6 separate regions of the Homo sapiens genome follow, and regions 1, 3, 4, 5 and 6 are each linked to region 2. Evidence: promoter capture Hi-C in 16 types of primary human blood cells and fetal thymus (Javierre and others, 2016). All regions are on one chromosome and are shown on one strand. The core of a region is centred on a gene start or on the middle of the fragment in contact, and the rest is flanking DNA. Distances in the headings are between cores, read along the strand shown.

Evidence for each region. Contacts are between HindIII fragments. The CHiCAGO score rates a contact against its expected background, and 5 or more counts as called.
Region 1: a fragment that was not itself captured here is called in contact with the fragment with the promoter of SELENON in region 2 in 6 of 17 cell types (fetal thymus, M0 macrophages, endothelial precursors and 3 more); the score reaches 6.8 in fetal thymus.
Region 3: a contact is called between a fragment that was not itself captured here and the fragment with the promoter of SELENON in region 2, in 2 of 17 cell types (activated CD4 T cells and M0 macrophages). The highest score is 5.4, in activated CD4 T cells.
Region 4: a contact is called between a fragment that was not itself captured here and the fragment with the promoter of SELENON in region 2, in 11 of 17 cell types (naive CD4 T cells, total CD4 T cells, total CD8 T cells and 8 more). The highest score is 13.1, in naive CD4 T cells.
Region 5: a contact is called between a fragment that was not itself captured here and the fragment with the promoter of SELENON in region 2, in 6 of 17 cell types (total CD4 T cells, total CD8 T cells, naive CD4 T cells and 3 more). The highest score is 7.0, in total CD4 T cells.
Region 6: a contact is called between a fragment that was not itself captured here and the fragment with the promoter of SELENON in region 2, in 7 of 17 cell types (naive CD4 T cells, total CD4 T cells, non-activated CD4 T cells and 4 more). The highest score is 8.8, in naive CD4 T cells.

Annotation. Positions count from the first base shown.
Region 1 is chr1:25,425,644-25,430,340 of GRCh38, forward strand. It overlaps a transcript of RHCE not described here. Among named protein-coding and RNA genes, the nearest start is that of MACO1, 2.9 kb to the right of the region's middle. RefSeq lists a silencer at 4,280-4,697. The HindIII fragment of the contact is 2,182 bases long and covers 520-2,701 here.
Region 2 is chr1:25,796,716-25,801,447 of GRCh38, forward strand. SELENON (selenoprotein N) reads left to right here and starts at 3,478. Exons shown (of 12, transcript NM_206926.2): 1 at 3,478-3,698; 2 at 4,328-4,445. The coding sequence starts at 3,516. RefSeq lists an enhancer at 2,672-3,393 and a silencer at 3,203-3,342. The HindIII fragment of the contact is 6,547 bases long and covers 1-4,732 here.
Region 3 is chr1:25,341,054-25,345,962 of GRCh38, forward strand. It overlaps TMEM50A (transmembrane protein 50A), which reads left to right. Exons shown (of 7, transcript NM_014313.4): 3 at 1,908-2,020. Among named protein-coding and RNA genes, the nearest start is that of TMEM50A, 5.2 kb to the left of the region's middle. RefSeq lists a silencer at 2,831-3,031. The HindIII fragment of the contact is 1,378 bases long and covers 956-2,333 here.
Region 4 is chr1:25,486,931-25,491,833 of GRCh38, forward strand. It overlaps MACO1 (macoilin 1), which reads left to right. Exons shown (of 11, transcript NM_018202.6): 9 at 2,243-2,363; 10 at 4,480-4,654. Among named protein-coding and RNA genes, the nearest start is that of LDLRAP1, 54 kb to the right of the region's middle. The HindIII fragment of the contact is 4,032 bases long and covers 176-4,207 here.
Region 5 is chr1:25,444,186-25,448,621 of GRCh38, forward strand. It overlaps MACO1 (macoilin 1), which reads left to right. Exons shown (of 11, transcript NM_018202.6): 2 at 2,577-2,718. Among named protein-coding and RNA genes, the nearest start is that of MACO1, 16 kb to the left of the region's middle. RefSeq lists an enhancer at 3,453-3,692. The HindIII fragment of the contact is 8,507 bases long and covers 1-4,436 here.
Region 6 is chr1:25,468,959-25,473,503 of GRCh38, forward strand. All of the region lies in intron 6 of MACO1 (macoilin 1), which reads left to right. Among named protein-coding and RNA genes, the nearest start is that of MACO1, 40 kb to the left of the region's middle. The HindIII fragment of the contact is 7,817 bases long and covers 1-4,545 here.

The DNA of each region.
Region 1 (4,697 bases), core at 361-2,860, 370 kb before region 2:
TGCTATGTCCACGGCGTGCTGGTCTGAGCAGCCAGGCTTCCTGCAGGTGTGGTGAATCAAGCCAGGGAGCCCACAGCTTTCACGTGTAATCATGACTTTTCTGTAAACACCAGACTCCCTGAGAATACCTGCCATGCCCTCCTACCTGAGTCAAGCTCAGTCACTGGCAGTGACCAATGAGGTAGGAGGTCCTCCGGTCCCTCCCTGGAAATGTGTCCACGCCAAGGGTGTGACCTTGCTCTGGGCACGTTTGGCTAAAGTGCAGCTAAGTCAGTCGTTCATTGATTTAACACACATGAGCTTTGGAGTTAGGCAACCTGGTTCAAATTCTGGCTTTGGAATGAGCTGTGTGACCTTGGGTAAAACAGTCAGTGTCTCTGTGCCTGTTTCCTCATCTGGAAAGGCAGAAAATCAGTGTCAATCTCACTGGGTTGTTGTGAAGATTCAACGAGGCAGTGCATAAAGTGTCAGATGTGTAGAAAACACTCCATAAATGTTAGCAATTATGATTATCACACAAGCTTGGCAAGTTTACTGTAGAAACTTTGAAAATACAGATGCATAAAGCTAACATAAAATGTCCATTTCAGTCTCTCCAAAAACCAGCACTATGTTTTGAGTGTATATCCTTTCAGATGTTTTTCTATTCCTGTCGATTTAGGCCTTGTTTTTCTCCCTACAAAAATGGGATTACACAGCACATACTGTTTGGTAACTTGCTATTTTCATGAACTCTATATCATAAGCAGTTTCCAAGCCAGGAAAATCTTTCTACAACAATATAACATGGTGGTTAAAGAGCCCAGGCACTGAAAGCAGACTGCCTGGATTTGAATTCCCAACTCTGTTACTATGTGACCTTAGGCAAGTGCCTTAACTCCTCTGTGCCACAGTGTCCTCATCTGTAATATGGTGCTAGTAATCTCTATCTCATAGGATTGTTGTGAGGATTAAAACAAAATGTATCTGATACTTGGAGTGGCGGCTGCCATAGTTAGTGCTGTGTATAATCATCCTCCATGCCACACTGACTTCCATGGTAAGGATATGTGATAAAGTGTTTGGTCAGTCCTCTCCCAAACTAGCCCTGTTCTAAACACTACAGTGAACATCTTCCATTAACATGGTTCTGGCCTGGTGTGGTGTCTCACGCCTGTAACCCCAGCACTTTGGGAGGCCAAGGCAGGTGGATCACCTAAGGTCAGGAGTTTGAGACCAGCCTGGCTAACATGGCAAAACCCCATTTCTACTAAAAACACAAAAATTATCCAGGCGTGGTGGCGTGTGCCTATAGTCTCAGCTACTCTGGAGGCTGAGGCAGGAGAATCACTTGAACCCAGGAGGCAGAGATTGCAGTGAGCTGAGAATGCACCACTGCACTCCAGCCTGGGTGACAGAGCAAGACTCCATCTCAAAAAAAAAAAAAATAGGTTTCTCTAGGGGATACAGGTACATGTGTTAAGAGGTGGCCATCGAAATGTTTGGACTTTTCTGTGATTCTTACAGGGCAGGAACAAAGCTCAAGACAGCTAGTGGGCTTGCGGGGATTGAACGGGCTGACAGAGGTGGGAATACCATTTCCTTATATGTGAAACAGGGTTTAATGATCTGGCCTCTAGAGCTGTTCTGGGCTCAGCTGAAGCCCAAGTGCAAATCCCTTCATCAGAAAGTCCCAGAAGGAGGGACAAGCCTAAATTCCTCTGTAGGCCTTGGTCTTTTGAATGAGGGCAAATTACTTCCCTTCCTTGTTTCACTCATTTGTAAAATGGCCACTGCTGATCTCTGCTTCCTGACTGGTGAAGGTGTGGGGAGCTGGGGCCTTCTGGCAGGAGGCCCACTTCTGTGCCCTTAGAATCCCAAAGGGCCATTTCAGGACTCAGAGGAAAAAGGCTGGCACTTGGCTGGAGCCAAAAGGGCTTGTGCTAGAGTGGGTCATGGAAAAAAGAGCTGGGTCTGGAGGAGTGAAAGAGGAAGAGTATGGAGATGGGCAGTCCTGCTCTGGCCTCTCCTTGGGTCTTGGCAAGAAGGCCATTCCCATCATCTCACCCCAACTCTACCCATCAATAGCTATATACAGGCACCACAGCTTGCTCAGCTTGTGCTTTGAGCTAGATTGCTCTACCACACCTATTATGTGACCTTGTTTCCTCTCAGCCTCAGTTTTCTCATTTGTAAAATGGAGCTAGCACAATCTGCTTCTAAACATAGAACTAGAAGCACCACCTCCAGAGGAGATCTTGGCACAGGGTGGGCTGGTGACTCAACCAAGGACACTAGTGAGTTGCCATGTGAATTGGGATTGGAACTTAGACCTCCAGACCTTCAGATTGTTTGTCAGCCATCACCCTCAGATTTTCTCTGCCCTTTCTCTGCTTCCACATAGTCCTAGAGCTCAACAGTAACTCTCAGCCACAACCTCCATTGCTCCCAGCCACTCCGCACTTTTGCCACAGCATGAGATGCCCTGTCAGGGTCTATTTAATAGTAGGCTAGACAGTGAGCCTCAGAAAGCTGGCATGTGTCCCCAGTGCCTCTCATCTTTTCTTTGGCTTACTCATCTAACCATCCCACTTAGTCTCTGGCCCAGGTAATCTGGAACACTGCAGTCATGGGGATGAGGGATATTCAAGTCTGGGGTTCCCATGGAGGCTGGAGCCCGGACTTTACCATGTACCTGTTCCTGCGCTCCCCAACGCCTTTAAGCTTCCATTTTGATTTGGTTCCCACCTGTATCTTCCTCAGTGAACCAATCTGCCTTGGCAGCTGAAGGCTTTTTTCTACTGCTCCACACATAGCATTCTGTTCATATCCTTTCTCAATGATGGGCAGGCCTTGGTGAAACTTTGAGCTCACAGAGTTTGTTTTCTTGGCCACCCGGTGCCACTTGATCAATATACTGAAGTAGAATTAAGGCATGAGAAACAAGTATACTGCTAACAGCAGTTACTTTCTGTTACCTACTGCTTGTCTGGCTCTGAAGGCTCATTGTCCTCCAAGCCTTAAAACAAACCTGAGTGGAAACAGACTGTGAGAGATTTAGTAACTTGTCCAAGCTAGTAAGTGGCCAAGCTAGAATTTCAGCCCTACTCTGAAAAAGCAAGTACTTTGGCCATTTTTCTTAACTGTATCTCTGCAGGGTATAGATTTGATCTCCAAGAAGCTTTTTGCCTAAGTGGATGGATAAGCCTTGCCTAAGAAACCACACACCAGAAGCGGCACTGACAGAGATACTGTGTTGGGGCAGAGGCAGGAAGGGGGAAAGATCGGTTGCAGTGGATTTAAGGATAGTGAGAAAAACGGTTTGCTTGCCTGGCGTAGCCTGGAAAAGGAGGGTGGGTCCCCACTGTGACCAGCTCTGGATGCCCTTCGAAACAGAATGGGTTTTCTCTTCCAGGCACTGGGAGATCTTTGAAGGTTTGTGAGCAGAAGAAAGTAACACAGAGTCATGATTGAGGACAACGCATTTGGTGTAAAGTTTCTCCCTGGGGTAGATGTTGATTAAGGGAGGGGTGATTACAGGCCAGAGAGAGTTCTGTGAAACCCAGGACAAAACAAAATGGCATCTACTTCCTGGGAAGTTTTTTTTTTTTTTTTTTTTTTGAGACAAAGTCTCGCTCTCCTGCCTCAGCCTCTCGAGTAGCTGGGACTACAGGTGCCCGCCACCATGCCCAGCTAATTTTTTGTATTTTTAGTAGAGATGGGGTTTCACCATGTTATCCAGGATGGTCTCCGATCTCCTGACCTCGTGATCTACCCGCCTCGGCCTCCCAAAGTGCTGGGATTACAGGCGTGAGCCACCGCGCCCAGCCCTTCCTGGGAAGTTTTAAAAATGCACTGGAAGACTAACTGCCCCATTGTCGTTGAGGGATTACACTGATAAAGCTACTGGATAGGACATTCTGCAATATTTTCAGAAATATTTATAAAAGCTGCATTAAAACATGTAAAAATGCTTATGTTAAAAACAGTATGACTACTATTCTAGTATGACTACTATTCTAGTATGACCACTATTCTATTTAATAGCAATAGTAACATTATCATCCATAGGGGAAAATTGGAAAACAAGCAAATACAATAAAATGTCAACTGTATTTGTGTTAATGTGATGAGACTCATTGGTGTTTTTTCCTTTTCGGCCACTTTCCTACATTTTCCCCAGTTTTCTCTAATGATAAACATTCTTTTTATTTCTCTTAAAAAAAAACACCATGCGGACTTTTCTAAGTGTTACTTTGCCATACGTACGTGGCAGGGGAGTTATAAGGAGTAAATGAGCAAATACACGCAAATTACCCAGCACGGTGCCTGGCATAAAATCGGCGCTCAATGAGTACGAAGCGTGAAGGGTCGCCGGCCCCGCGTCCCCGCCTTGCAGGAGCCCGGACCCGCCGAGCAGGCTCCCGGTCCGGCCCGGCCCGGCCCGGAGGCCGATGCTTCGCGGTAGTGCCCTCGCGGGTCCTGCGGACTCGGCGCCCGCGGGGCCCACAGCGCTGCCCAGCCTGTGGACGTGGAGCCCGGGCCGCACCGCCGCACACGCCCCGGGCATCTCTGCGCTACGTCGCGCGCCCCCACGGCTCCGCCCCGTGGCGTAACCCGGGGCGGGGCCGCCACCTCCGATTGGCCGGCGCGCTGTCACCACGTCGCGGGAAGCTGGCAGGGTGTGTGTCTGTGTGCGTGTGGGGTTTGCTTTGTCA
Region 2 (4,732 bases), core at 2,228-4,727:
CAGCAGGTATTTAGTTTGCGGAGAGGCCCACGTGGTCCGGGCATGCTTAAGCAACTCCTGCAGTGGCACCTGTTTCCCCCAAGTGATCCTTTGTTCTCAAATGTTGGTCCTATTATTGGCTGCCAAGATGTTAGGGTTGGGTTTGGGGAAAATCACTTGCCTCTCTAGGGTCCCAGATGAAGAGAAGAAACACAAAAAACAAAGCCAAATGGCCCTCTTCCTGGCTCACTGTCGCCGGTGAAACTGGAATGGAAAATCCTAATTTGATTTGATTCCCTGGAGGGCAGCAGCGCCCCCTGCGGGAAGAAGGCCTTTCCTGGTGAGTTTACCCCAAAGAGACAGGAAGCAGAAGAGAGGATGCTACTAGGAGGCAGGCAGGGATGTGTGTGTGTGTGTGTGTGCGCGCGCGCGCGTGTGCGTGTGTGTGTGCGCGCGTGTGTGTGCGCGCGTGTGTGTGTGTGTGTAGGAGAGAGAAAGAGAGAGAGACACACACACATCAGGGGTGTGTGTGTGTGTAGGAGAGAGAGAGAGACACCAGGATTCGAGGCAGTGACCCTGCCCCTACTTAAATGTGGCTGCAGGCAGGTCAGGCTCCCTCCTCTTCTCATGGGTGGATGGAGTGGCCTGGAGTGCTTACACCAACACCCTCTGCGCAGGGAGGTGGGTGTGGGTGCCCCCAGGCAGAAGCTGGGACCCAGTAGGGAGTCTGAAGGGTGCTGCAGTGGCTGAATGTCCCTCTCTTCTGATGCCTCCACATTGTCTCAGTGGTAAAGTCCAGGCTTTTCACAAGCTGGCCAGCGTGCCAGCCCAACCTTCCTGCCTCCTCCTCCTCCCTCTTCACACTTCCCCCCCGGGTCCCTCTGCTCAAATCCACTGGACTATATTCTCGAGACGCTACGGATACTCCATCGAGTTTCACATCACTGGGCCTTCACCTCTGCTGTTCCCACCCTCTGGAATGATCTTCCTGGGTGCTATGCCTGGTGAGCTCCTGAAGTCAAGGTCTGGCCAGACCTCTGCTCTGGGAAGCCTCTTCTGAGCCCTCCTGATAGTCAGGGGGACCCTCCTCTGTGCACACCCCTCTCAGAGCACTTACCCCTCGAGAGGAGGGTTGCAGTATCCATTGACTCATCTGGAAGAGCAGAGACTGTTTTGTTTTCTGATGGACACCCAATCGCCAGGACACGGCATAGTAGCCCTTCAATACATGTGTTGGAAGGATGAATGAGCGAGTGCCCACTAACCTCCGAGACCCTCATGGACGTGGCCAGTGCGTCACTCACCTTGCTGTGGTTCCCATTGGCTGCCAGTTCCCAAGTGTCACCCTTGCCCACTGGGAGGCAATAGCAAGGTGCCAAAGAGATCCTGCAGGGCTGCCCCAGCCAGAACCACCCACTAGGCCCTATCTCTCACGGCCTTGCCCTGCCGGGGATCTTGGTTTGGGACAAGCCCTTCTGGGAAGGGCGCCCTCCAGTGGGAAACCAGCCCTGCTCCACTGCCAGTCCCAGAGCTGACACCTCCCAGAGCTGACATCTCCCAGAGCTGGGCCCAAGATTGATCCTTTTCACAGAGGCACACTGATCTGACCTGATTGTCATTAACCCACCCCCACTGTGCGCCTTCCCGAGCTTCTAGAATCATCCCCCAAGTCCCGCAAGCCCCAGAAACCCATTTCTTCAGCACTGGGCAGCAGAGACCAGTGGGGTATCTGTATCTTTAAGAAAAAGCAAGTGTAATAAATAAAAGTTATCTGGGAAAGAAAACTTCCTTTGTTTATTTTCCAGAAGCCTTAGCTCATCAATCTTCCCCTCCTAACCTGCTTTGTGCTCTACTAGTTTTGCTTCCAATAGAATAGAATTTGGTTTTCTAGTATCATGTATCGTACACAGGGTGTCCCCAAACAGTAGCAATAATGAGTTGAAAGTGGCACAGTTGGAAGCCTTCAGAAGCCAACGCCAGATGTCAGGCTCTCAGTGGGTCCCTCTAAGGACACTGGGGCCAGAGCACAGGGCAAGGGTTGGGTGGGCCCACAACTCTGGAAGGTCCCTGGGAGTCATTCATCTGACAGACACTGAGGAGTGCCCACGATGTGCCACGCCCTGTGTGGGCTCTGGGAAGGCCTCACCTGGTGCTGCCATGGCTGGCCACCAAAGAAGAACAGGATGGGCAGTGGAGGCAGGACCCCACCCCCAACTCAGTCGACCGGGTCATCCCGTGGGAAGCCTGGGAGGCAGGATGGCAGGAGATTTGGACCCATAGACCTGGGTGCCAGAGGTCAGGCTTCTTCATTTGAAAACCAGGGAAGCAGTCTCTACCTCACAAGGTGGCTTGAGAACAGAGTGAGAGAATGTGTAAATCACCCCACCTGAAGTCCAGCACATGGGCAGAGCTCAGCATCCTTTGGATCCCTCAGGCCTGACAGGTGCCCCTGCGCTGGGGGGGTTGGTGGGGCTCTGCAAAGGCAGGCACTGCTCACCTCTGGGCTCAGAATTCTTGTCTAGAGGCTTCTGCAGCTGCCACCCTCGCCTGAGAAAATGCAGGTAGAGACATCTAGAGCCACCCCATGGTAACTGGGGGCTTTGAAAGAATGGAAGAGAGCCCCAAGGAACCAAGGTCCTGGGGATTGACAGGCATGAAAATATGTCCTCAACACCACCCACCCCTATTTCCAAGGCCCTCCTCCAAGCATGCCGCATGCTGTTCTCCAGAAAAGCCAGGGCCTCTGGTAGCTCCAGCTGCTGAGGGGCTGGAGCCTCGCCTTCCCCTCACCAGACCAGAGCCCGGAGGGTGGGGGTTGGGGGGCTCTTTTAACTCCTTGGTGGAGATGAGGAAATTTGGGCCCAGGGAAGTGCAGGTTCAGAGCTGCACCTGCTGTGCCTGGAACAAGGCCAATCCCCATAACCCATGCATCTGCGGAGGTGGCCCCCCAACTGCACATGAGGGGAACAGGGGCTGGGCTTTCTTTTTAATTTGTCTTGCTCTAGATGACAGAGGAACTTTTAGAAAACTGGTGGGATAAGGATGGACGGATGCCCCTCAGCAGTCTCTGGCCTCGTGCCCGGCTGCCAGCAGAGGAGGACACGAGGCCTCAGAGGCCCCCGACGCCCCTTCTCCAGGAAAGCACAGGGTGTGTGGCTTCTCCCCAGCCCCTTCTTTGTCCCAGTCCCCAGTCTGGAATCGCTCTCTGGGCTGGGCCAGGCAAGTGGGCCGCAGAGGCCTGGCTTAGCTTTGGGAACGGAAGCACGGGAAGGGGCGCGGAGAGGCAGGAAGCGGCCTGGGGAGGCTGGGGTGGCCGGGACTACGGACCCGACCGCATAGACGCGATCAGCCCCTCTTGGCGTTCCGGTGTAGCTGACCCCGCCCCGGGCTCTGGCCGGGCTGCGAAGCCGGGAACCAGCGACCCCCCGCCCAGCCCCTGCGGCCGCCCCGCCCCTCCCCGCCCCGGCCGCCCCGCCCCCGGCCCCGCCCCGCTCTTTCGCTTCCCGGGCCGCCGGCAGCCGCCGCCAGCCGCAGCCATGGGCCGGGCCCGGCCGGGCCAACGCGGGCCGCCCAGCCCCGGCCCCGCCGCGCAGCCTCCCGCGCCACCGCGCCGCCGCGCCCGTTCCCTGGCGCTGCTCGGAGCCCTGCTGGCCGCCGCCGCTGCCGCCGCCGTCCGGGTCTGCGCCCGCCACGCCGAGGCCCAGGCGGCCGCGCGGCAGGTCCGGGCCCGAGCTGGCTGGGGCGGGAGCGCGGGAGCGGGGACTGAAGGACCCAGCCTCGGCAGCAGGGGGGACATGGGCATGGACGAGTCGGGGGAGGCGGAGGGCGGAGGGGGACTGGACGGGAGGGAGCACGGGAAGGAGGGGACACGGGAGGCGGGTGGGGGGTGCCTGGGGCCGGGCTGATGGGGGGAAGGCGAACGGAGGCCAGTGTGGGGCTGGGACAGACTGGAGGGGTCTCTATCCAGAGGGGTGACCTGGACACAGTGAAGCTGGTTCCCGCAGAGTCTTAAAGGGTTACTGGGGAGCCCTGGGACAGTGAGGAGGGGACACAGGAGAGGACAGAAGGTGCAGGAGGAACAGGGCCAAGCAGCCAGGGCCAGGCGGAAGGCGGAGTGGGGACAAACTGGGAGGGGGCAGTCGGACCAGACAGTGGATGAGCAGGGACCAGGAGGGACTGGAGGCTCTGGGGCAGTTCAGAGGCAACATTTGCACAGATGGACCGGGAGGCACTGGGAGAGCTCAGGAAGATGGTGGGAGAAGGGGCTCCATGCGGAAGCAACTGCCTGTTGGGGACCAGGAGACCAGGCCGCCAAATGGTGCCCAGCCCAGTCTCTCCTCCCAAGCAGGAACTGGCGCTGAAGACCCTGGGGACAGATGGCCTTTTTCTCTTTTCCTCCTTGGACACTGACGGGGATATGTACATCAGCCCTGAGGAGTTCAAACCCATTGCTGAGAAGCTAACAGGTACCAGGAGAGACTGGCGGCTGGGGAGGAGGGCGCCTTGGCCAACGGTGTCTTCACTGAGCAGGAGCGGCCGTCTGGAGTGGAGGGAAGCTCGTGGGATCTCAGAGGCCCTGGACTCCTCCCAGCTCTGACACTTTGTAGCTGGTGGCTTGGGCGAGCTGCTCCAGCAACCCCTGAGCCTGTTTTTCTCAGACTTGTGAGCAATAATACCAGCTAACATTCTTTGGTCTGCGAGGTAGCTCACGCCTGTAATCCCAACACTTTGGGAGATGGAAGGATCGCTTGAG
Region 3 (4,909 bases), core at 395-2,894, 460 kb before region 2:
GCAAAAACAAAAAGGAAACTCATTAAAATACATTGTGTGGAAGTAATTTACAGAATAAAATTCTTATTTACACTTCAGATCCCTCAAGGGATCTGCTATTAGTTTTTTATGATCATATGGTGTCGTAGGCTCTAAAGAGTAATTTTTTATTTTTATTTTTTGAGATAGAGTTTTGCTCTTGTTTTTTTGTTGTTGTTGTTTTTGTTTTTTTTGGTTTTTTTTGAGACGGAGTCTCAGTCTGTCGCCCAGGCTGGCGTGCAGTGGCGCAATCTCAGCTCACTGCAAGCTCCGCTTCCCGGGGTTCACGCCATTCTCCTGCTTCAGCCTCCCGAGTAGCTGGGACTACAGGCGCCCGCCACTGCGCCCGGCTAATTTTTTTGTATTTTAGTAGAGACGGGGTTTCGCCGTGGTCTCGATCTCCTGACCTCGTGATCCGCCTGCCTCGGCCTTGCAAAGTGCTGGAATTACAGGTGTGAGCCACCGCGCCTGGCCTTGCTCTTGTTTTAGTAGAGACGGGGTTTCTCCATGTTGGTCAAGCTGGTCTTGAACTCCCGACCTCAGATGATCTGTCTGCCTCGGCCTCCCAAAGTGTTGGGATTACAGGCATGAGCCACCGCACCAAGCCATTTTTTCTTAAGCTTTAAGATTTATTTATTTTCGAGACAGGGTCTCACTCTGTCTCCCAGGCTGGAGTACAGTGGTGAAATCACTGCTCATTGCAACCTCGACCTCCCGGGCTCAGGTGATCCTCCCACCTCAGCCTCCGGAGTAGCCTGGACCACGGATGAAGGCCACCACACCGGGCTAATTTTTGTTTTTTTTTTTGTTTGTTTTTTTTGTAGAGATGAGGTCTCTCCATGTTGCCCAGGCTGGTCTCCTACTCCTGGGCTCAAGTGATTCACTGGCCTTGGCCTCCCAAGGTCCTGAGATTACAGGCTATTGCACCTGGCCAAAAAGCTTTGAGTTTTTAGTCTATGAAGAAAATATCTTAAATACATTGAGCTGAGGGTAAAAAGAAAGGCATATGTACTCATGCTAGCCATTAAAAATGTTATTAATCGAGTATGGATCTGTCTGTAACCTGATAAAAGTAATTTGACTAGCCTAAAATTGTTACTTTAAAATAATTGCCAGAAGATGTCAGTTGCCAGAGCTAACTGAGTCAGGGTTTGGTGTGGGGATAGGAAAGGAAAGGGGGTTACTTTTAAAATCTTCTAGGCTACTTGTCAGAATTTGGTTAATATAATTTTATTGTAAATATCTGCTCAGATGATAAAAACTGTTTTTGAAGTTTTGGCGTTATTTTGTTATACCTTTGCCCTTGATAATATCTAGAGCCAAATTCAATTAGATAAATTGTAATCTGGTGTTTAAATTAAATTTAAAATCACACCTGAAACCATATTTAGACTGCACTGGAATTCATCAAAAGCAGAACCTCAGAGCTGTTATTTCACACCAAGAAGATAGCTAAAATTCTGTGAACAATAGTTGTTCTCCATATTAATTTGAATGCTTTTTTCTTGATTTTGGGGAATATTTCTCTGGAAGTTTATCATATATCAACAGGACACTTCTGTCAGTTGGAATTGGAGTCACTTTTTTCCTTTCCCCCTCCATGAGATAACTGGTTTCTAGTTCACCAAATTAGATTACAAGGCTTTATTATGATAAAAATTAAATAATGATTGAAGTAGGCTTAGAGAAAAGTTATGTTAATAAATATAAATTGCTCTCAGATTTAAGGGTACCTAATCAGTTATTAGGCCATGTGCAAATTACATGTGGGAAAAAGCTAGAACATTTTTGAAATGTATTAAAAGGGATCTCCTCACTTAAATACCTTGCTTTTAGCCAGTGAGATACAGAATTGCTATGATTTCTCATTGGTATCACCTTTGTTTTAGTTTTTTACAGGCTGGTGGATTATCATAGATGCAGCTGTTATTTATCCCACCATGAAAGATTTCAACCACTCATACCATGCCTGTGGTGTTATAGCAACCATAGCCTTCCTAATGTAAGTGTCATCGTAATTGGCATTACTTACATAGCTTGCCACAAAATAAAAATGTTTCAAATATAGTTGCATAGATTTAAAATTCTAAATATTATCAGATTAACACACTGGACATGATTTAAAAGTCACACAGTAGAGATGGACTTATACAGAAAAGCAGCAGTCCTCTTTATTCTTTTTGTGTACCTCTCCACTCCCTCCCAGCTTCTCTCAGCTATTCTTTTATTTTATACCCCCAGGGTTTATAGCTTTATATTTAAGTCCGAAACTGTGTATTTTGTCTAAGGGATAATTCTTTCAACAATATTTATTAAGCTTTTATATTCCAGACTCTGCTCTAGGTACAGGACATATAGTAGTTAGTAAAACAGGAAAAATCCATGTCTTTTTGTCATTTAAAATAAGTGCAAAGGAGAAAAAATAGAGAAAGGAGATATGTGCAAATAAGTGCAAAGGAGAAAGGGATGTCAATAGGAGGGATAGAAATTAAAAAATTTTTTTTTTTATAGAGAGGGTGTCTCATTATGTTGCTCAGGTTGGTCTCCTGGGCTCAAGTGATCCTCCCACCTCGACCTCCCAAAGTGCCAGGATTACAGGTGTGAGCCACCACACGTGGCCAGAAATTTTCAGCAGAGTCAGAGAAGGTCTCACTAAGAAGGTGACTTTGAGTAAAGACTTGAAGAAAGTGAAGGAGCTGACCAGGGGATGGGGATATATAAGAGAGGTTCATTCCAGGCAGGTGAAACAGCAAGTACAAAGGCTTTACGGCAAGGAGACCAGTATAACTGCAGTAGCAAGATCAAGGGAAAGAGAAATTGATGAGGTCAAAGAAGTGGTGGAGAGGGACAGATGGTATAGGGCCTTGAGAAGCATTATAAGAACTTTACTTTCAGCTGGATGCAGTGACTCATGCCTGTAATTCCAGCACTTTGGGATACCGAGGTGGGTGGATCACTTGAGCTCAGGAATTTGAGACCAGCCTGGGCAACATGGTGAAACCTCATCTCTACCAAAATACAAAAATTGGTAGGGCATGCCTGTGGTCCCAGCTGCTCCGGAGGCTGAGGCGGGAGGATTGCCAGAGCCTGGGAAGTCAAGTCGATGTTACAGTGAGTCATGATTGTGCCACTGCACTTCAGTCTGGGTAACAGAGCAAGACCCCATCACAAAAATAAGAACTTTACTTTCATTGTAAGTGTAATGGAAGCCATTGGAAGGTTTCGAGCAGAGGAATGAAATGACCTTATATTTTAATAGGAGCATTCCTGTTGAAAAATTTTTAAAACCGGTAAACAAAATTTATTGCAGTGCCAAATAGTATAAGCACCATGACTCTGTGCTTCTCAAATTTATCAATGTATTTTGAAAATATTCTTGTATTCTTACCAGTTTCTCAAATTCATAAAATCGTTTAGTTTGCTTCATACTTGGGCTGTGACTTTGTTATTTAGTATTGTTTTTTCCTATAGTTTTTTTTTTCTTCTTTAATTAAGACGAGGTCTCACCTTGTTTGCCAGGCTGGTCTTGAACTCCTGGGCTCAAGCGATCCACCTGCCTTGGCCTCTCAAAGTGCTAGGATTATAGGTGTGAGCCACTGTGCCCGACCTTTCCTAGAGTTTCTGATTGTTTTTTTTTGTTTTTTGTTTTTTGTTTTTTTTTGGTGGTTGTTGGTAGAAAGAATGTATATTTTCTTTAGGATTCATTTTATTCTTCTTGAATGCTGCAGTTCTAATTTGGACAGTTACTATGTGGAATGTAGTAGCCTTGTTCAGTTTTTTGTTTTTCCTAGAGTTTCTAGCTGCCTTTTCTTTGTTTTCTTGCATTTTCTACTATTATCACATCTTTATTTTTTTCCCAAATTCTCAATTATATTCTTTAATGTATTATAACTTCTTTTGTTTTAGAAATCAACATCCCAGAAGCCCGTATCTGTCTGTTTCATTATGAATTAATGACTGTGTAAGCCTGCTGCAGCACTGTCACCATGGGACTTCCCTCCCCTGTTGATCAGGGTTGAATCCACTGTTTTTCCAGTTACCACATCTTCTTTTTTTTTTTTTTTTTTTTGGATACAAGAAGTATTTACTTTGGCCGGGCATGGTGGCTCACGCCTGTAATCCCAACACTTTGGGAGGCCAAGGCGGGCAGACCACCTGAGGTGAGGAATTTGAGACCAGCCTGGCCAACGTGGTGAAACCCCATCTCTACTAAAAATAATTTAAAAAGGCTGGGCGCAATGGCTCACGCCTGTAATCCCAGCACTTTGGGAGGCCGAGGCAGGCAGATCACGAAGTCAGGAGATCGAGACCATCCTGGCTAACACAGTGAAACCCTGTCTCTACTAAAAATACAAAACATTAGCCGGCTATAGTGGCACGTGACTGTGGTCCCAGCTACTCGGGAGGCTGAGGCAGGAGAATCGCTTGAACCCAGGAGGCGGAGGTTGCAGTGAGCAGAGATCATGCCACTACACTCCAGCCTGGGCGACAGAGTGAGACTCTGTCTCAAAAACTAAAAAATAAATTAGCCAGGCACGGTGTTGCGTGCCTGTAGTCCCAGCTACTCGGGAGCCTGAGGCACAAGAATCACTTGAACCTGGGCAGCAGAGGTTGCTGTGAGCCGAGATCACACCACTGCACTCCAGCCTGGGCGACAGAGGGAGACTCCGTCTCAATAAATTTAAAAGAAAAAAGTATTTATTTTAGTTTGTTTATTTATTTATTTTTTTTTTTGAGATGGAGTTTTGCTCTGTCGCCCAGGCTGGAGTGCAATGGCATGATCTCTGCTCACTGCAACCTCCACCTCCCAGGCTCAATTGATTCTCCTGCATCAGCCTCCCCAAGTAGCTGGGATTACAGGCACACACCACCATGCCTGGCTGGTGTTTGT
Region 4 (4,903 bases), core at 942-3,441, 310 kb before region 2:
CATCTAGTGATGACTGCTCTCCTCTCTCCTCAATTCATACAGCACCTGCCCTTTCTGAAAAATTCCACTCAGGAGGACATAGCAGTTCCTTAACGATATTGCTTAGTGTCTCCCATGCCTGAGAATCAGTAAGTTGATTTCAGTGTCTACCCCAAATCCCTTTTGCTTCCAGTTAAGCTTATTTATCTTATCCCTGGATAGTCCTTGTTTTTCATAACTTATTCTTTTTTTCCTTCTTTTTGAGACGGAGTCTAACTCTGTCACCCAGGCTGGAGTGCAGTGGCGCGATCTCAGCTCACTGCAGCCTTTGCCACCCAGGTTCAAGCGATTCTCCTGCCTCAGCCTCCCAAGTAGCTGGGATTACAGGCTCCTGCCACCGTGCCCAGCAACTTTTTGTATTTTTAGTAGAGACGAGGTTTCACCATCTTGGCAGGCTGGTCTCGAACTCCTGACCTCAGGTGATCTGCCCACCTTGACCTCCCAAAGTGCTGGGATTACAGGCGTGAGCCACCACACCAGGCCTGCCATAATTTATTCAGTAAATCTCAGGGCATAAATCTCTGACTGGACCTTCCGTTTTGGTAGGCAGAGAACACCTACTTTCTTCATTGGGCTGTTTCTGGAACCTAGACAGTACCAGCTTTGGACTGGCCATTGCCATCATCTCTTTTAGCTCAACCTTATGATAGCCCTGAGAAGCAGCTCAACAGTGTGCCCTTATTTTTCTGTTTACTCCAGTCTTGTGGCAACTTTATGACAAGAAAGACAAAAGTCCCAATGCGTAGCCCCTCAAAAGTGGGGGGAAAATTTTTTTCTAGTTCACCGCCCCCTGCTGGACATAGTACATGTTCAGTTCTATCTGGCTTTGTGTGTATTGTCTCAAGTCTCATGGCCTGGTGGGAAGTTTGCTGGATTGGGAAGCCAGAAAATCTCAGTTCTTATCCCTATTCTAAGACCTAAAAGCTAGGTAACCTTGAACTAGTATTTTATCTATGTAGCCTCAGTTTTCTTATCTGGAAAATGGGATAAATATACCCTAGGTTGTTATAAGGATTGAAGAAGGTAGTATGGGTAAAGTACCTTAGTGTCTGGCTCATCTAGACACTCAGTAATAATTATTGTATATATGTATGTATTTTGAGACAGGATATCATTCTGTCACCCAGACTGGAGTGCAATGGTGCAGTCATAGCTTACTATAACCTGAAACTCCTGGGCTCAAGTTGTCCTCTTGCCTCAGCCTCCTGAGTAGCTGGGACTACAGGCATGTGCTACTATGCCCAGCTATTTTTTAAATTTTTTGTAGAGACAGGGTCTCTCTGTGTTGCCCAGGCTGATCTCAGACTCTGGGCTCAAGCAGTCCTCCCACCTTGGCCTTGGGAGTGCTGGGATTACGGGCATGAGCCACCATGCCCAGCCCAGTTATTTTAGAGTATTATTGAAATTATCAAAGGACACAGAGAACTGAGCAGACTGAGCCAAAAGCTAAAACCTGACAGACCCTGGAGTATAAAAGAAATTAAAAGAAATATAAATCCCACAATACAAGTAAACCTATAGTCTTTTTTTTTTCTTTTTTTTGAGACAGAGTCTCACTTTGTCACCCAGGCTAACGTGCTGTGACACCATCTCAGCTCAGTGCAGCCTCTGCCTCCCAGGTACAAGCAATTCTCCTGCCTCGGCCTCCCGAGTAGCTGGGATTACAGATGTGTGCCACTACACCCAGCTAATTTTTGTAGAGAGAGGGTTTCACTGTGTTGGCCAGGCTGGTCTTGAACTCCTGACCTCAAGTGATCCACCTGCCTTGGCCTCCCAAATTGCTGTGATTACAGGCGTGAGCCACTGCACTCGGCCAACCTATAGTCTTTTTTAAAATTTTATTTATTTATTTATTTATTTGTTTTTGAGATGGAGTCTCACTCGGACGCCCAAGCTGGAGTGCAGTGGCACGATCTGGACTCGCTGCAACCTCCACCTCCTGGGTTCAAGCAATTCTTCTGCCTCAGCCTCCCCAGTAGCTGGGACTACAGGCATGTACCACCATGCCCAGCCAATTTTTTTTGTATTTTTAGTAGAGACGGGGTTTCACCATGCTGGTCAGGTTGGTCTCGAACCCCTGACCTCAAATAATCTGCCTGCCTCGGCCTCCCAAAGTGCTGGGATTACAGGCCTGAGTCACAGGGCCCAGCCCCAACCTATAGTCTTTTAAATCACTTTATTTCCTTCTCTTCTTTTTCAAAAGGGGAGAATGCACCGAAACCTTACGGAATCGGATCAGAGAACTAGAAGCAGAGGGCAAGAAGCTCACGATGGACATGAAGGTGAAAGAAGACCAAATCAGAGAACTAGAACTAAAAGTCCAGGTAAGGGGGGAACAAAAGACTTCCCTTGTATTTGAATTCCACTTTTATGCTAAACTTGTGCTCTGTGTTGCAGTGTAGAGATGATGCCTTTTAATATAGATCAAATCTCATTGCATCTGAAAAATCTCTATGTGACAAAAAGATTTGAAGTTCTAATCTTGTCCAGCTCATTTCAAGTCATATTAATGTAGCCAGATTCTAATACAAACCAGAAATGTTGACAATCCCTTGGTATGTTTTATACCAGGATTTAACTTGCTGTAGATTCATTTAACTTTTTCAGGTTATAGGCCAGATTAGTGTCCTTTGAAACTTACACACCTCCTTTTAGCCCCAACCCTCTTTCTATTGCCAGGGGACTGACCCTCCTGCATGGCTCTGAGCCTTGCAGATTGTTGTTCATAGCAGTGAATGATAGGAAAGGTGCTAGTGCTATGGACGTAGCCTGTTTTATGGGCTGTGTATACTTTAGCCAAATATTTGTCATTTAAACTAATGTCATATATTGTAAAGTTACAGTAATTTGAGCCAGGTGGGACAAGTGAAAAATTACTGTCAAGTCAGTGGACTAGAATGATGGCCTGGAGTACAGTACCGAAAAAAATACGAAAAAAAGTAAAGGTGGCATCAGAGATAGATGGGAAAGGTAACGATTAGTCAGTAAAAGGCTTTGGAATAGCTAAATAACTGGAGAAAAAAAATTAGAAACTCATCTCATGCCACATATAAAGAAATTCCAGATGAAGAGTTGAAGGCAGAAAAAACAAAGAATAAATGAGTTTTTAAAAACTAGGTGGAAATATACTTGACCTTGAAACAAGGGAAAGATTTTCTAAACATACAAGCAATGGGAAAAAATCACAAAGCAAAAATCATAATAATAAATGAAAAAATTGATTGGGGAAGGTATGAATATTGCAACAAATATTATAAATAAGGAATTAATATTCTCAACATATCCGTAGCTCATAAAAGTTGCTAAGGAAAGCTCATATATATAGCAAAATAGGCTGAGGATGTGAACAAATAATTCAGAGGAAATACAGGTGACTGATAAGATCATAAAAATATAAACTCACCAATCATCAAAGACATGCAGATTAAAAGTAGATATCATTTTTCTCCTATGAAATTAGCAGATGATTTTTAAATGAGAATATCAATCATGGTGAGGATGCAACAAAATAGGCCTCATACATTGCTGGTAGAAATGTAACTTTCTGGAAAAGGTCTTGCACTTTTTAAGTATTTACCTTTTTTAGGAATCCAGCCTAAGGTAAACAATTTTAAAATCTCACCAATGAGTGATGTACAGAGATGTTCATCGTAGTGGTATAAAAATGCAAAAAAATTGAAAACAGTCTTAACAATGGGAGAGTCATTTAAATTTTGGTATGTAAACATTCAGGAATATTGTACAGCCAATAAAAATTTTATTTTCAAACAATAGTTAAAATCATTTAGTTTTTAAAAGACTATGTACAAAACTGTACATTTAATATTTCACTTCTGCTAAAAGATACACATATGCATAAAAGATTAAAAGAAATATTAAATTTTTTAGTGTTGGTATTATGAGTAATTTTCATTTTCTTCTTTGAATTTTTCTATATTCCTAAATTCTCTGTAATAAGTTTGGATTTTTCTGTTAAAAAGAAAAATTCAAATATCTGTATATATTAATTGTTTACATTAAAGTGGGCTTATTCTGCAGTATGCCCTGTCAAAATAATTAACATTTTTACAATTATTAATGCAGGTTGAGTTTTGGCAAGTTCGATTACAGCATTATGATAATTTGCACGTGGCCAGCAAGGAAAAATGTTTTCTGTGGTTCTGAATTAAGCTTATAAGAAAAGTGTTTTATTTGGAAGCAGATTCCATTGTTTTCTAGACACATGCCCAGCACAGTCAAATGATCATCTTCTAAATATTTTTGTATGTGCTTATTGCCATATAAACACATTTAGCACTTGCCTAAACCCATGAAACACCAGATTTTGTGTTCTAGTGGCCAGACCAAGAATAGTGGGATTTAATTTGTGATTTCAGGCTAATTTATAGACATCGATGCCAAAACTACCTTGTAGCATTGCTGTTTTGATGATATTGATAGGAGCTTCGGAAATATAAGGAAAATGAGAAGGACACTGAGGTGTTAATGTCAGCCCTCTCAGCCATGCAAGACAAAACACAGCACCTGGAGAACAGCTTAAGTGCAGAGACGAGAATCAAGCTGGACCTGTTCTCCGCACTGGGCGATGCAAAGCGGCAGCTCGAGATTGCCCAAGGTAGGAGAACGTGGGCCCCTGGTGAGGTGGTGTGACTGATAATGCACAGGGATGCACAGGCCAGACCTCTCCTGAGAGCTCTCAACCAAGGGGCATTTCAGTTTTCTCTTCAAGAGTCTTGGTAAGTGCCCAACATTGAAATATAGGAACCATCACATTAATTCATTTGCAGACATATTTTGAGATGAGAACATGTCAAGTGCAGGGCATACAGAGAATAGTATGATTTCTACATTCAAGGAGCTCACA
Region 5 (4,436 bases), core at 1,626-4,125, 350 kb before region 2:
GAAGTGGAGGTTGCAGTGAGCTGAAATCATGCCACCACACTCCAGCCTGGGTGATAGAGTGAAACTCAGTCTTTAAATAAATAAATAAATAAATAAAGAGATGGGGGTCTCACTTTGTTGACCAGGCTGGACTTGAACCCCTGGGCTCAAATGATCTTCCTACCTCAGCCTCCCAAATAGCTGGGACTACAGGTGCACACCACTGCTTCTAGCTATGCCATTTTTTAAAAAGTGCTCTGAAACCATGGTGGAGAGGCTGTTATTCCTTTTTCAAAACGTAGAAAGGGTTCTAGACACAAGGAAAAAAACTCTTAGTTTTAAAGTCAAGCACCTTGGAAATCTAGTTTCAAACTAGATTTGTGCTCCCGAATACCTGCATGAGTCAGTTGTGTTTTTTTGTTTGTTTTTGTTTTTGTTTTGAGACAGGGTCTTGCTCTGTCACCCAGGCTGGAGTGCAGTGGCACAGTCGTGGCTCACTGCAGCGTGGACCTCCCAGGTTCAAACAATTCTTTTACCTCAGCCTTCTGAGTAGCTGGGACTACAAGTGTGTGCCACTACACCTGGCTAATTTTTAAATTTTTTGTACAGATGGGGTCTCACTATGTTGCCCAGGCTGGTCTCGAACTCCTGGACACCTTGGCCACCCAAAGTGTTGGGATTACAGATATAAGCCACTGTGCCTGGCCCTCGTTTGTTCTTTGTAATAAAATGTGCATTGCTCTCCACTAGGTCAGTTATGGATTTAATGAGTGAGAATTACGAGGGCTCTATCTTCATCTGGCCAGCAGAACTCTAGTGAAATGAAACTAAAAGGTGGGACTTAGGATTCAAGACTGTGTTCTGGCCAGGCACATACCTGAAATCCCAACACTTTGGGAGGGTGAGACAGGAGGAGCCCAGGAGTTTGAGACCAGCCTGGGTAACATGGTGAGACTCCCATCTCTATTAAAAAAAAAAAAAAAAAAAAGCCAAACATGGTGGCGCATGCCTATATTACCACCTACTTGGGAAGCTGAGGTAGAAGGATCACTTGAGCCCAGTAGATTGAGGCTGCTGTGAGCTATGATCGTGCCATTGCACTCCATCCTGGGAGACAGCTCAAGACCCTGTCTCAAAAAAAAAAAAAAAAGATTGCGTTCTTTTGTGATTTGCTTTGGATTCCTTTATGGCATACCTCTTAGTAGAAACTTATTATCAAACCTAAAGAAGTTCTAAGGATAAATATTAGAAATCGACCCTAGATGACAAATTATGTATCACTGTGAATACTGTATCATTGAGGGTCAAATGTTTCTGTTCTTGACATCTCTTGCCTGAATGGCTTCAAAGGGCACAAAATAAATCCTCAATGCTGGATCCTACTTTTTTTTTCTTTTTTCTTTTTTTCTCTTTTCTTTTTATTATTTTACTTTAAGTTCTTGCTTTTGTTTTTGTTTTTTTCCTCCAAGTATGTAAGTCTTTTGTATCTTATTGGAATATATTTCAAAATTATTTATTAAAAATCTCAATTTTGTTGTTTTTTTAAATGACTAATTTGATCACATCAGTATTGGAATATTTGTATTACAAAATACCGTGCAAGGCTTTATCCCAAATGAAAGTGAATTTTAGGTATTTCCATTTTGTATATTGTGGAAAATATTTTTTAATACCTAAATTTGACCTCCAGAATTGGCAGGATTAGGAGCACAGAAATAGAGGCTTGTTAACAAGTAGAATCTAAAGGATTCTATTGTCCATTATGCAACTAATGAACTGGAAAATTGACCTATAGAGTATATGAAAAATAATATTTTTTTTCTGTGTCCTTGTTTGACCTACTGCAGTGGTTACATATGTGTCCTAACTGGCTTGTCTGAGTGTTTCTGTTTAACACAAGTCCAGAGGGAACTGGGAACACACATTTATATCTCAGCTGGAGCATGGCTTAGATGTTTAAGGAGTTTTTTCTTTAATGTACATTTTTATGCCTTCACAGCCCTTGGTAGTGATTAGCATCTGCTCCCTAAGTTTGTTTCTGTCTATTTGGGGAAGTCATTTGGTTTTTGTTTGGTTAATGCAGATGAATACTATATACAGAGGCAAGAGGAAAAAAGGGGGAAAAAAAGACAGAATTCTTTAAGCATGTAAGGATGTGCGTCAAGAATTTCAAAGACTCTTCAAACAGATGTATAGGGGTGGGGAAACAGCAAATTTGAAGCCTTTCAACTGTGACATTTTCTTCTAATGAAAAACAGCTTGAAAGCTGTAATTTTGAGAGTGTTGCAGTATTTTGAAGTCAGACACTTAGCACATTTTTAAAATAGTGGTGGGATTTAAATGGTTTTTTTCCATCTTAAGTAGAATTAAGCGTTTTTGGTATCATCTTATCTTGATAGTTTTGGGTCTGAGAATGAACACCAGAGCATTTAAAATGCAGATGGGCCACGGCAGCATCTCTTTTTTGTGCTTTATCTCCATTGTTTTCATGATATATGGAGGTATTTTTTTGTCGTTTTAAACAGAAACAGTGAATTTTCTATTTCTAGTTATTCACAAATGACCTTAAATTAATTCTTTATTTTTATATTTTGCAGTACATTTTTATACCTGAAATTCCTGGTGGTGTGGGCACTTGTCCTCCTAGCAGATTTTGTCCTGGAGTTCAGATTTGAATACCTGTGGCCATTCTGGCTTTTCATCAGAAGCGTCTATGATTCCTTCAGATACCAGGGACTGGTATGTCTGGTAATACATGTTTTCCATGTGTGGGGACCATTCAGCTGTTTAGAGTAGATGTTATTAGCAATACTCAGGTAACTATGTTAGGATTAGCTAATAGGGTCTGTTAACTGAAATTGACCTCTAAACTATTTTGTCTAAACCCATTGATCAAATAGTTACATTTTCTCCTCCTCTCCCATTCCAGTGAAACAGAACAGTGGAGGAAGCAATAATTACTCAGGCTTTTGGAGGGCGGCAACCTAGTCTGGGGATGGCATATTCCCTCCTCTTCCATTTCCCATTGCAACCATAAAGGCCGTTCCTACCTTAAAAAAAAAATTGCTCAGTCCTGCTTTGAAGTGTTTCTGGGTTCCCTGTTGCTAGGTTAGTGATTGGATTGGAGTTAGAGTAGTGTTTCAAACGTTTTGGTCTCAGGGCCCCTTTTCACTCGTAAAAACTATTGAGGACTCCAGAGAGCCTTTGTTAATGTGGCTTATATCTATCCAGATTTACTGTATTAGAAATTAAAACTGAGAAAAATTTAAAATACACACTTATTAATGCACTTAAACATCATAATAAGCCCATTACACGTTAATAGAAATTACATTTTTAAGTGAAAAATAGTTATATTTTCTAAAACAAACAGAATATAGAAGAGTGGCTCCATTTTTGTAAATCTCTTTAATATTTGGCTCAATGGAAGACACCTACATTCTCATATCTGCTTCTGAAGTCAGTCTGTTACTGTATCACATGTCATGTAACTTACAGAAAATTCCACCATATGCATGAGTGAGTGTAAAAAAGGCAGATAACATCTTAGTATTGTTATGAAAATAGTTTTAACCTCAAAGAGCCCTTGGAGGGATCTCAAAGACACCCCAGAAATCCCCAAACCACATTTAGACAGCTGCTGGATTGGAGCAAGCATAGGCCTGGGCTTGTTCCCTTGATTAATGTGTTAATTCTGTTGTGTTCTACAGCCACATCTTAAAACTATAACTCCCACCCAGGCCTGGTGCTTTGGTCAGAGCAAATCTATGCTTTAAAAAGATAGTTTCGGCTTATGTTCTATTGGCGGTAGTGGTGTCCAGAGGAAAGCTGCATTATTAAAATTATTATTAGTTTGGTGCAATTACTTTTGCACCAACCTAATAGCATCAGTATATTTCTTACTAATATTATGGTTCATCTGTGCTCCAGACAGCCTGTCTTTTAAGAATGAAGCTCTTTAGGAATGGTTTGTGAGGAGAGAGAAGACTTTTCTGTATTAAAATTCTAGTTTTTTCAGGGCCAGACGTGGTGGTTCACACCTGTAATCCCAGCACTTTGGGAGGCCAAGGCGGGCGGATCACAAGGTCAGGGGATTGAGACCACCCTAGCTAACATGGTGAAACCCTGTCTCTACTAAAGTTACAAAAAATTAGTTGGGTGTAGTGGCAAGTGCCTACAGTTGCAGCTACTCAAGAGGCCGAGGCAGAAGAATCGCTTGAACCCGGGAGGTGGAGGTTGCAGTGAGCCAAGATCGCACCACTGCACTCCAGCCTGGGTGACAGAGCGAGACTCCATCTCAAAAAAGAAAAAAGAAAAAAAAAATTCTAGTTCTTTCAGGTAACCCACATTTATTTGGAATCCAAATGAATTCACTGTGTTCCCACCTCAGCTCATTCTGATCCAGTTCTTTTTCATGATTTGAGGACCATAAAGTACTAGTATTCTTTAATGTTAAA
Region 6 (4,545 bases), core at 1,923-4,422, 330 kb before region 2:
GCCTCCCAAGTAGCTGGGATTACAGGCAGTGCCACCACATCTGGCTAATTTTTTTATTTTTTTTAGTAGAGACGGGGTTTCACCATGTTGCCCAGGCTGGTCTCGAGCTCCTGACCTCAAGTGATCTGCCTGCCTTGGCCTCCCAAAGTGCTAGGATTACAGGCGTGAGCCACCACACCTGGCTGAGAAGTGTTTAACTTATACTCATATTCAAGTACTAATTTAAATTAACAAATCTGAATCTAGAGAAATATTTTTAGAGCATATATATTGATAACAACATAATCTATAAATAAGCTATGTAATGTTCTAGTCATCAGTGAGTATGTTGATTAGTATTGTGTTGTCTGTGATACGAGTTTTTGTGACTCATTCCTTTCTGGTTTAAGTTGGTGAGTGAGCAAAGTGTCATTGCCCTTCATTGTACTTTCTAGCCCACTTAAACCTTGTATTTATGTTTTATGATTTTAAAACATGAATCTGCCCTTTTTTCCTTAAAAGGGCAGATGAAGATAGCAAATGTTAAAAACGATCAGCTTTCCTCTGTGACTAGACTTTCCTGATGGCACACATTGCTCAAATGTGGCTTGACTAGGAATTCACAGACTTTCATACTTCTGAATTTAACCTTGTCTTCCAGCTACCAGCATTTAATACTGCTGTGTAACCTCTGACTTTTTTTTTTTTTTTTTTTTTGAGACAGAGTCCTGCTCTGTCACCCAGGCCGTAGTGCAGTGGTCCGATCTCGGCTCACTGCAACCTCTGTCTTCTGGGTTCAAGTGATTCTCCTGCCTCAGCCTCCCGAGTAGCTGGGACTACAGGCGTGCGCCACCATGCCTGGCTAATTTTTGTAGAGACGGGGTTTCACCGTATTGGCCAGGCTGGTCTCGAACTCCTGACTTTGTGATCCACCCGCCTCAGCTTCCCAAAGTGCTGGGATTACAGGCATGAGCCACCGCGCCCGGCCAACCTCTGACTTTTATAAGACTCCTTGGTGTATTTGGTCTTGCAGTTTAGGAAAAAACTAAAGTAGATGTTTTAGGGTACTTATTTTTTGTTTCTCCACATTATAAGATGTCTACACCCAATTTAAAATTACACATTTGTTGAATAGAAAGGACTATATTTTTAGATACTGATTTTTCATAATCAGTGGATTCAATATGATTTGGTGTGAATAACTATAAAACAGAGCAAAGTGAAGAGAGAATCCAAGATGTCCCTATTTTGTGATCTTAGAGAAACATTTCAAAGCCACTAGCAAATTTGGGGGCTAATGCTATTTACTATCTATCTTTCTATCATTCTTTATCTCTTGTAGGGAACTGGCCTGGGTCAGGGTTAGGAGTGGTTGAGGCTGGCTCCTAGCTCCAGGGCAAGAGAGAAAGTTGCAACAGAAGGTGGAGAAGAAGATTCAGAGCATGTAGCCCAAGGTTGTTAATAGGCATGAAGCAAGAATAGAATCCAAAGCTGGGACCTGACCATTGGGTTGAAGCAAGACAGAGCGGTCAGTTTAGGAGACAGAGCCTGTGAGCATTCCCTGGACTGGTAACCCAGGGGCAGGTGGCCTTTCATGGAGGATTCCATCCTTCTCCCAAGGCCCTGATGAGTCCTTAGTGGGGAACCACAGTAGTTAAGTGGGAAAGATAACAAACAATTATCTTGAAAGGTGCAAGCCCATCTTAAGGTAATTAAAGGAACCCAAGATTGTCTGCTAAAGTGGGGTGGGGAGGGGGCAGGTAGCAAAACAGATTGTATAGTATGAATCCATGGAAAAATATGGGTAGGGGCCGGGCTCAGTGGTTCACACCTGTAATCCCACACTTTGGGAGGCTGAGGCAGGTGGATCAGTTGAGGTCAGGAGTTTGAGACCAGCCTGGCCAACATGGCGAAACCCCATCTCTACTAAAAATATAAAAATTAGCTGGGCGTGGTGGCATGTGCCTGTAGTCCCAGCTACTCAGGAGGCTGAGGCACGAGAATCACTTGAACCTGGGAGTCAGAGGTTGCAGTGAGCCAGGGTCGCACCTCTGCACTCCAGCCTGGGCCACAGAGTGAGAACCTGTCTTTAAAAAAAATTAAAAATATATATGGGTAGGGCCGGGTACGGTGGCTCACACCTGTAATCCCAGCACTTTGGGAGGTCAAAGCAGGTGGATCACATAAGGCCAGGAGTTCGAGACCAGCCTTGCCAACATGGCAAAACTCTGTCTCTACTAAAAATACAAAAATTAGCTGAGTGCAGTGGCGGGTGCCTGTAATCCCAGCTACTCAAGAGGCTGAGGCATGCAACTCACTTGAACCTGAGAGGCAGAGATTGCAGTGAGCAGAGATCGTGCCACTGCACTCCAGCCTGGGCGACAGAGCAAGACTCTGTCTCAACAAAAAAAAAAAAAAGAAAGAAAGAAAAATATGGGTAGATATATTTCTCATGTGCACAGAAAATTACTTGAAATATATACCAGATGGTCAATTGTAGTTGGCTGCCAGAGACATTTACTTTCTGCATTGTTTATTTCTGCATAGTTTAAGTTTTTATAACATGCTTATTATACCATAATAGAATGTAAGCTCAGTAAGGACAGGGAACTTATTTTCACTGGTTTGTCACAGTACACAGTGCTTGGCTAGCACAGAGTAGATACTCAGTAAATACTTGTTGAATTAATAAATGCTACCTTTGTGCAGGGAAAATACTAGGAAGCAGGGAGGGTGGCACCCAGTAATTTTATCACAGTGCAACTCAAAGGCTTTTGAAGTTAGAAAACCTGAATATCACATTAGACCCAATCGAGGACTGCACATCCAGTGTCAAACTCTTTGTTATTTTTGAGGTTATTAATAATTTTATTTCTAAATAGAAAGTCTCTTTGCTCCAAACCCCTTTTCTTGGTATTTCACAGAAAGTTTTAAAATCCAGCACTCCGTCAGTAGTTTTTCCCAAGGCTTTGAAAGAGGTGTAAGAATTTCTGGAAGTTACAAGGGAAAAGAGGAGAAAAGTCCTCTGAGACACTGTTGTCAAAAAAGGCATTTGCTCTGGCAGTGGGGTTGGTTGTGCTTCAGGGCCAAGGAATCTAGACAGAAGCCTCATCTCAGCCAGGAACAGGGAAGATAATCTCAGTTTGCCTTGTCTTATTCATCTTTTCTGGTGGGTCTAGCCCTCTCTCTCCTCGCCAGTCCCAGATCATTCTTTGTCTTTGTGGTAGCTGGAAATACAGCTCAGATCCCACATTAAAAAAATATATATATTATACTTTGAGTTCTGGGATACATGTGCATGAGTTCTGGGATACATGTGCAGAATGTGCAGGTTTGTTACACAGGTACATACATGCCATAGTGGTTTGCTGCACCCATCAACCCGTCATCTACATTAGGTATTTCTCCTAATGCTATCCCGCCCCTAGCCCCCCACCCCTCAACAGGCCCCGGTGTGTGATGTTCCCCTCCCTGTGTTCATGCGTTCTCATTGTTCATCTCCCACTTATGAGTGAGAACATGCGGTGTTTGGTTTTCTCTTCCTGTGTTAGTTTGCTGAGAATGATGGTTTCCAGCTTCATCCATGTTTCTGTTCCAACCTTCTCTCCAAGGAGATCCTCCAGGTTAGAATATGTGTTTGGCTGCTTTCTCTCTAATGCTACAGAGAGAATGTTAAATTTGTTTGTTCTCTTCTGCTTTGAATGCATTTTGCTTGTGTCAGGAGTAGTTTGCGGAAGAAAATCTGATCTTGGTAGACAGTGATTCAGGCTTTGGGGGTTCCCCTAGCTGCTTTCCCTACAGGTGGCTACACAACAGGGTGCTGACAGATTGCTGCAGAGTCACCTGCTTGACCCCTCCCTGAGTGATGGCGACCACAGCCGGCCTTTCTACTTCTGTGAGGCATAAAATAATTTTTCGGAACAGCATTATTCTAGCTGAGATATAAAATTATAATAAAAATGTATGAAATTTTAGAATGGGAACTGTGAAAACTAGACACTTAGATGTTCTAGCTAGACTAAATTGAATATGTTGGCTATAGCTGCTGCTGAATTATTTGGAAATTATCAAGTGGGAAAAAATAAGTAGTAGAGACATCTGTCTAGTAAGTTTAGTGTGTTTTCTGTCTCTGTGGAAACATGTTTTTGATTTATGTTTTTCTAGCACTATGTCTGAGCAGATATACTTTGTCGGACCTGATTAATTTTCATTTTCTGCTATAACCATAATATTTTCTATACCTATAGTTTGACTCTGTTTATATTAATATACAATATAGTTTGAGTTTATTTTAACCATTGCAGGAATTTAAAACTATCGTATTCTGGGATATAAATGTGGTAATAGAGGCATGATTTTATACTTAAACAGGGTTTTTTGTGGCTTGAAAAACGTGGCATTTTAGAAACTAGGCATAAGTGAATTTAAGCAAACAGTTTACCGAATGTCTCCATATCTAAGAGGCCAAACAGGAAGGTGATTATGGTGTATGGATAAATTATGAAGTAACATGTAGGTTATTGGGGAGGGGGCTTCTACATAAACATGAAAAAAAAAATTTTTATG